2 separate regions of the Homo sapiens genome follow, and region 2 is linked to region 1. The links are contacts of gene promoters, found by promoter capture Hi-C in blood cells and fetal thymus (Javierre and others, 2016). All regions are on one chromosome and are shown on one strand. Each heading gives the region's core, a stretch centred on a gene start or on the middle of the fragment in contact. The rest is flanking DNA. Distances are from core to core; before and after follow the strand shown.

The links. Contacts are between HindIII fragments. The CHiCAGO score rates a contact against its expected background, and 5 or more counts as called.
Region 2: a contact is called between a fragment that was not itself captured here and the fragment with the promoter of DACH1 in region 1, in 1 of 17 cell types (monocytes). The highest score is 5.1, in monocytes.

Annotation. Positions count from the first base shown.
Region 1 is chr13:71,864,914-71,869,157 of GRCh38, reverse strand. It overlaps DACH1 (dachshund family transcription factor 1), which reads left to right and starts at 1,954. Exons shown (of 11, transcript NM_080759.6): 1 at 1,954-3,236. The coding sequence starts at 2,389. The HindIII fragment of the contact is 4,223 bases long and covers 1,563-4,244 here.
Region 2 is chr13:71,704,056-71,708,299 of GRCh38, reverse strand. The region is part of intron 1 of DACH1 (dachshund family transcription factor 1); the gene reads left to right. It also overlaps the pseudogene RPL21P109. Among named protein-coding and RNA genes, the nearest start is that of DACH1, 160 kb to the left of the region's middle. The HindIII fragment of the contact is 3,858 bases long and covers 23-3,880 here.

The DNA of each region.
Region 1 (4,244 bases), core at 705-3,204:
AAATTAGCTTTTCAGGGCTTAATACTTTCTTCCTCCCCTCCCCTCATTATAATAGTAGTTTGGTATGTCTTAAAAAAGTAATATTTTCTAAAACATGCAAAAATACTTAAGGAAGTGTTTTGATGTATGTGATATATATTGAATTCCTACTTTTACCCATAACAAATTTGAAGACTGAAACATAAATAAAAATTATTTCTGAATGTATTACAATACATTGGTTAACCAGGCCAAACAACTGTTTAAACTTTAGTTGTCCTTGCAGAAGTTCATGGACTTTTCTGCAACAATCGATTTTCTGAATTCTTATCTCCCAGGAAAGCCTCCTGATTTAACTGCTATGTCCCAAAAATTTTAGTATAATCATACACTAATTAGTCCATAGTGTCATATTTCTATTTTTCGGTAGACAGTTCCTGCACTATTTGACACTGCGATTCACAGAGTTCAAAGGCTTAAAATGATATAGAGAAATGTGATCATTTCAACACCAGAATGGCAAAAATTTTATTATAAAATTTCCCAACCCTGTGAACCTGCTACTAACAGTTTATTTTAAAAATCTGTCAAATGCTAAAGCATTGCTTCATATCTTATGAACTTACTGAACATGTGTGGACCGGTTCAAAGGCTAACTAATTGAAGATACTTGGAGACATGAGCAGCAAATAGATTTGACCCATATTCAAATGATATGTTAGTCAAAAATCCTTGAATAAATACTTCAGTGCAACAAGTTAGAAAAGAAAAGAAAAGGAAAGAGGAAGGAAAGGAGGAATAGAGTCAGTCTAAACTCAGCCTCATGTTGTTTTAAGCACAGCTACCCAAGTCTTTACAAGTCAACTAGTGAGCTTTGTTTTTGTTCTTCCCATTATTTACAAAACATATATTTACTGACAAATTGAAAAGGACTTTCCAAAACTACAGCAGCACTTTTCAAACATGAAAAAAAAAAAAAAAAAACTATTGTGTTGTCCAAAAAACACATTAGCAATTGGCTTTGGGTCTTAAAGGACATGAGGATAGTTGGTTACTGTGTAAGACAGGTGAATTAATTATAGAGTTTTGGGTAAGAAAACCCTTTTTCCACTTTCTAAATCTTCAAGGATACCTTATCTCCTTGATAGCTCTAGGTTTAACAGGTATTTCTGACTGGCTTTTGGGGAGACAGTGAAGTTATTCTAAATCATCCACATCAAGGCAAGCATTTCTTTCCACAACCTATTAGGAAATATGGAATTGAATACAGAGCTTTCCATTATTCTTAAGCGATTTCGGACTGACTTTCTTCTCACCACTTGAAAACTGTCCTGGAATTTTCACTATCTTTATATAAATAAATAATTTAGTAGAGAAATAAACAATCAGATGCAAAAGAACATTACGCTTTGCTTACATGTGAATTTTCCTCAAAATAATTTCTGAATAATCGTGAAGTGGGGGCTGTGTTTTCGTTTCTAGCTCATTGCCAAAACGCGTGGAGATGGATCCTAAATCCTGGAAGGAGAGAGCTCGGCGCGCTCAGGCTCCTCTTTAAGTTGGCGGGCGATTGTTTAGAAGCTTTGGAAAAAATTACCAGTCCCCGCGGACGAAATGGAATGTGAGACATGCAATCTAACGGTAGTAGTAGAAGAGAAGTAGATGATCTCCCTCTCCTTTTCCGATCGCCACTTCTGTGTCCCCGGCTTTTCCTCTCCGTCCCTCCCACAGTTTCTTTCCGTATCCTCCCCCTCCCCTCCTCCTTTCCTCGCACGCTCCCTCTCCAGTGTCTCGCGCTCTCGGAGTCTCTGCTCCGAGTTCCTGGTTGGATAATTTGGGTTAATACTAGTGAGTGAGGTTTTTGCGGCTTCAAAGGGTATTTCAAGTTTCCGGAGCTCCTCCCCTCTGCACCGTGTGACAACAACAACTCGTCCAGCCGGCAGCCTGCACTTTTCAGCTCATTTTCTCTCTGTCATTCCCCTCTCAATCTTTGATCAATGTACTTGCCAGGGAGAGCCCAAGTCCTTCAAACCTCCTCCTTTTCACCTTCATCCTTAACTTTGTGCTAGAGCGAGACCCACACAACAACAGCCGACCCTCCCCGCCCCACCCCCACCCCCAAACCAGCCCTCGATCCCAGCCCCCGGAGAGGACTCGCATTTCGACTTGCGGGACACTTTTGTGCGTTCCTCTCCAGAGCGCCTCTCGTGCTCGCCCCTCTTGCGCTCGCTCTTTATTACCTTCACCTCCTTTTCTCCCCCTTCTCTCCCTTTCTCCTTCTCGTTCTCTCCCGGAGTTGTTGTTGCCCCCCTCGCTCCTTCTCCCCCCTTTTTTCCCCTTCCCCTCCCGGGGGTGTGTGGCAACTTTTCCTCTCGCTTCTCCTCCGTCTGTTTCCCCTTATATGTGACCATGGCAGTGCCGGCGGCTTTGATCCCTCCGACCCAGCTGGTCCCCCCTCAACCCCCAATCTCCACGTCTGCTTCCTCCTCTGGCACCACCACCTCCACCTCTTCGGCGACTTCGTCTCCGGCTCCTTCCATCGGACCCCCGGCGTCCTCTGGGCCAACTCTGTTCCGCCCGGAGCCCATCGCTTCGGCGGCGGCGGCGGCGGCCACAGTCACCTCTACCGGCGGCGGCGGCGGCGGCGGCGGCAGCGGAGGCGGCGGCGGCAGCAGCGGCAACGGAGGCGGCGGTGGCGGCGGCGGCGGTGGCAGCAACTGCAACCCCAACCTGGCGGCCGCGAGCAACGGCAGCGGCGGCGGCGGCGGCGGCATCAGCGCTGGCGGCGGCGTCGCTTCCAGCACCCCCATCAACGCCAGCACCGGCAGCAGCAGCAGCAGCAGTAGCAGCAGCAGCAGCAGCAGCAGTAGTAGCAGCAGCAGCAGTAGCAGCAGCAGCTGCGGCCCCCTCCCCGGGAAACCCGTGTACTCAACCCCGTCCCCAGTGGAAAACACCCCTCAGAATAATGAGTGCAAAATGGTGGATCTGAGGGGGGCCAAAGTGGCTTCCTTCACGGTGGAGGGCTGCGAGCTGATCTGCCTGCCCCAGGCTTTCGACCTGTTCCTGAAGCACTTGGTGGGGGGCTTGCATACGGTCTACACCAAGCTGAAGCGGCTGGAGATCACGCCGGTGGTGTGCAATGTGGAACAAGTTCGCATCCTGAGGGGACTGGGCGCCATCCAGCCAGGAGTGAACCGCTGCAAACTCATCTCCAGGAAGGACTTCGAGACCCTCTACAATGACTGCACCAACGCAAGGTGAGTCGGGGGGGATAGCCCCCGCCGCCCGCGCCCCTTCCCACCAGCCTGCTCGCCTGCCCTCGCTCCTTTCCCGGCGCCGCTCGCTCTGCGCGCCCGCGAGCCGCGCGCCCCGGCGAGCGCGGCCCTCTCCTCTCCCTGCTCGGGGCTCGCCAGCCGCGCCCGACCCCCTGAGAAGTTGGCACCTCACCCTGCCCAGACCTCGCTCTTCGGCCCGGTCCTCCCCTTGCCCTCTGGGTCCCGGGGATGGGCTGCTGTGGGATGTGGGAAAGCCGAGCCTCGGGGCGGAGGGGACGAGAGGGAGGAGGACGGCGCCTTTGCTGGAGCCACAGCCCCCTGCCCCGGGCGCGCGGGCGCCTGGAGACCCCTCTCAGCGCTGCTGTCCGCGTTCGTGCGCTCCCCAGGACCTGGGTTCCACGGCCAGCCTCCCGGCACCGACAGGGCTGATCTGTGGCGCCGAGCGGTGTCCCGGGGGCGGGGGGAGGTCGTGACCTGCTCCGCAGGGCTCGGGGAGCGGGGAGACGCGCTCCGGGTGAGGGCCCCGCTGGGAAAGGCGAGGGAGCGGACCAGCACCCGAGGAGGGCACTTTGAGGTCGGGAGGGAAATGACCCGCGAAGCTGAGAGACCGGGTCCATCCCGGGGGATGGGCTCCGGGGACTTGAGCTCCGAAGCCCGGAGGGGAAGCCAGCCGAGGGGAGGGGTCTGTGTGTTCGCGCATGTGTGCGTGTGTCCGCGTGTGAGCGAGTGCGTGTGCAAAGGAAATAAAGGGGTACGGTGGCCCCGGGGCAGATGCGAGGGCAACCAGCAGGTTTTCTTCGGTAGGGGGAGGTGACCGATTGCCCGAGACTCAATGGAAGCTGAACTGGAGAGATTAGGAAGGAAAGCCACGGAGCGCGCTCTCTCTCGATCTCTCTTTCGAGTTCTCTGTCTCTTTCTCTCCAAAGTGTGTTTTCTTTCTGTCTTTCTCTCTCTTTTCTTTTCTTAAAGGTTAGTAGCTTAAGCAGCGAG
Region 2 (4,244 bases), core at 702-3,201, 160 kb after region 1:
TTTGATTCAATCAAGTCAAGCTTACTTTTAATACCAGACTTTAATTTGACTATATGGTTTGCTTGTTGATTGCTTTGTTGTTATAGATCGAGGCACAGGAATAAGCCATGCAGAAGAGACTATATATTTCAAATGCACCCTTAATCAGGGTTTTTATTTTGTTTTTACTTTTTTTTTTTTTCATTTTTGGTTTTAGTGAAAATCGCCAGTTTGTTTGTTTTTTGCTATAAAACTTAAGTGCTTTATTTTAATTTATAGGTGATTACTAGCCTTTGGAGAAAAAGAAGTTAGATTACTCACCAAGTATATTATTATGCTTTTCCACTTCAGTGGGCCTGGTGAAACTTTCTTATGAGCTCTCTTTCAAGGATAAAAGCCAAATAGTGGGAGGTGTTTTTGAAACACCATGTGCCCTTGAGTATGGCTCACTTACCCATCTCTTCATCCTCCCTTTCATTGTTCTCCTACAGCCTGTTATTTTTAAATCTAGATTTCTGCCATTATCTTCTATTAAAGATGCCACCCTCTAGTCTTTTTCTCCAACTTTACGTTTACACCAATTTACATTTCATTCCATTTCCTTGCTTAAAGTTATTACTTTTCTTATAAATAAAATCTAGGTAGGCTTTTAAGGCCCTTGGAAATCTGATTACAAATTATCCTCTCTTAATTTCATCTTCTCTAGATGTAAGAGCCTAATTATTACGTCTAAACAAATATTATGTCATGCCTTTGTTCTGCTTCTGTTCTCTGGGATTATTTGCCTCTCCTTACTTTCTTTTCCCTTGCCAAATTCCAGTTCACTTTCATGACCAAGTGTTCAGGGAGGCTCAGGGCTACTCCTTCCCCAAAGCCCACCATCTGCATTTGGGCACCGTGTACACAGGCTCACTTTCAGGACAAGCCCAGTGCAAAATACAAATGTAGGGTCCCTTATTTTAAAATGGTAAGAATTCAAGATGCTGACAGCAGAGCATTAAATCCAGCAGAAGAAACTCTTCCAAGCACGTGACTTGTGCAGCTGCACAGGTTGCATGCCCTGCTGAGACTTCCTCAAGAAATGCTCCCATAGCATGTAGTTCACATCTTTATTATGTTGCATTTACACAGCATGCTTACTGCATGTGTATGTATGTGCCTGTCACCCCAAGAGCTTGCAAGTTCCATGAGGGGACAGACCTGTCTTAATGTTCTTTCAAGTCCTTTGACCTAGTCAATTTCCTCACAGGAAGAGATACTCACTAAATGTATTAAATTAAATGTGAAGATGACTATGGGAAATAAAAACATTCAAATGTGTGTTTATCTAAGACTTTAATATCAAATAATTTGTGAAATAAAGTTTTTAGATATATTAAAATGAAAATCATAGTTTATCAATACGGTCTTTAAAACAGTTTAAATAGCGACAGTAAACTCTTACTGTACCGAGGCAGATTCATTATAAATGTGAGAATTCAGTTGGAAATAGAGTTGAAAGAATAATTCTAGGACATACAGTATTAACTTGACTTTAATATGAGAATTAATGCATTTTAACATTTTTCAACTTTATATAATACTTCAAATAAGAATGCATATTTTGGTCTGAAAAAAATAGATATAGAATAAAATTGTGTAGTGAAAAAAATTACCACAAGCCAAGAGAATTATTCTGAAAGAATTTAGGTGAGTGAAATTATCAAGAAAACATGATAGTTCATATTCGTGAAGAAATCAATTTTATTTTTGTATCAAGCCAGTGCTTGAAAAGAATGGAATATGTCCAAGTAATCACATCACATGTTTTTGCTAAATTTCAGATAATTAAAAATAAATAGCAAACAAACTGGGAAATTATGTCTTATTGTTTTGATTATTTCAAATCTGAATATTTGCAAATATGCTATCTTTGTTGGGATTTCAATTAAGCAGGCTGTTATTAAAAATACATCTCACTGTAAAAAATATAAATATGCTACCCAATAGATTTCAATTAATACTAAGTTCTTAAATGGATGAAAGGCTAATAATATGTTTTAATTAATATAAAGATTAATAATATAATTAATAATATGTTTTTATCCCTTTTGTTGTCCTGATTCTTTATAGAAAATCAAGGAAGTTGTACATAATAAAATGCCACTTAAAAACTCTAAGATGATATAGGGTTCTATTGTGAGTTCTGTAACATTCGCATTAGAAAATATCCTATTCTGACTGAATTTTTACATGACTTGAAGCTGGTGGTAAAGGTAGAGAATATTTATGATGACAAGGTTTTGATCACTAGATTTCTTGATTGATAAGAAAAAATATCTGATAGTTTCTAAAAAGAAAAATAAATATATGCTATTGTACAAGGGTACAGAAGAAAAAGGATATAAATTGAAGGTTAGTTGTTGAACAAGTGTGCTATGGAGAAAAGGGAAAAGGAGATATGAATAGAGAAGCACACTTACAGAATTTGTATGAACCATATGATAATTACTAATTGTTTTAATGGAGACTTCATGACATGCTCAGAAGAGATAAGACTTGATTTACTTGATTCTAAAAAAAAAAAGAAAGACTTTTCATATAGAGATCTAAGTGGTAATTCCAAAGTCTTTTGGCTCTTTAACATCAGAAAATAACTTTTCCCAAGTTTTTGCTATGGAAGGATTGGAGGAGTTTCTTTGGTAGCTAACAAATTGCCTATCTGCCTATACATTCATTGATAGGCTTGAGCTATGTGAATTCAATGAAGAATTCAAATCCATAAAACATTTTTTGAATAAATTCATTTTTAATGATGTTTAATGATTTTTTAATGATGAGTTCTAAATGATGTTAAACCACTGTCTTCCATACACTTCAGCAGTCCTTATCTACTTATAAGCAAGTGCTCATTTGCAGACAGGTTTGTTAGTTTCTTCAAGTGAAGCCCAATGTGCTGAGAGAGTTGTAGCCAACAACATTTCGGTCCCTAAATAGCGCTTTAGAGCATTTTCTAGTTTCTGGTTGTGGACTTTATTCTTTTTCCCAACCCAGAGTCATTGAATAAATAAAGATAAAAATCTTAACACAAAATATTATTACTAGAGGAAAACGAAGTCCAAGATTTATGACAGTCTACCTTGACAATATTCACTCTGTACTTAGCTGTTTGATAATTTTTGGTCCTGTCCTACACCTTATATCTTGAACAGCATTATCTCCAAACACAATGGATCACTCTTTATATATGTGCTAGGAAATATAGCTTAGTGCTAGTTTCAACATCACTACCATAAAAATGTGAATGTAAATGAATAGTCTTTTAATCAAAATGTATCAGAGAAATTACCGAATTTATTTTATTTTTGTATTTTATTTTTTTAATTATTTTATTTCTTCCAAAATGATTTTAGAGGAACTACCTTCAAACCAGTACAAATATTTCATAAATAGTATCTGGCCGATTTCTAGCCAATTGAGCAATTTGTTGCACAATAAGCCACCTCATGTCTTTCAGTAAAAAATAACATTAAGTTCAAATAATAAAGACGTTACACAATAAATTAGGACACAATTAAAATTTGCTTTAAATATTTCTTGGGGGGAGGGGACGCCATACTTCTACTCAATAAAGAGAAACATTTTCACAGTCCAGAGATCTTTTATTTTTATTTTTTAAATACCTTTTAAGCCATGAATCCACAGGGAAGAGGTTCCAGCAGCTCAGGCTCCCTGCCATGGGTTCTCATAAAGTGTGCTTCTCTGGGTGGAGCAGGCTGGTGCTTCAGTTGCACCCAGGTATGTTTCTCTTTGGCTTCCTTCTGTTACTGATCACTTTCCTTCACACATTTCAGGAAGCTATCTCAGCTCTTAGAGTTCTTCATATACTCAGTACGCACATTAATTCTCTTTGCAAGAAGCTTGCCCTTAACTTGTTTAAAACAATGTCAACAGCATGCTGGGGAACATGGTAGACTCTTCCAGTTTTGCCATGGTAACACCTGTGGAGCATTCCTTTTTGAACAGTACGCATTCTCTTGATGTCTACAATATCACCTTACAGATTTGCATATTCGTGGCCAAAGGATCAACTCTATGTTGTCTCAAAGGCCTAGAGAACATATATCAGGTGCCTCTCTTCTTTCCCTTTGTTTTTCTCATTTTGATGAATTACTGGAAGATGGCGGGTCCAGAAAAAAGGACTGCATTGATTTTTGAAGCAAAGAAGCATACTTAAATATATTGTATTTTTTAATTAAAATCGGTTTGTCTCTACACTTCCTTAT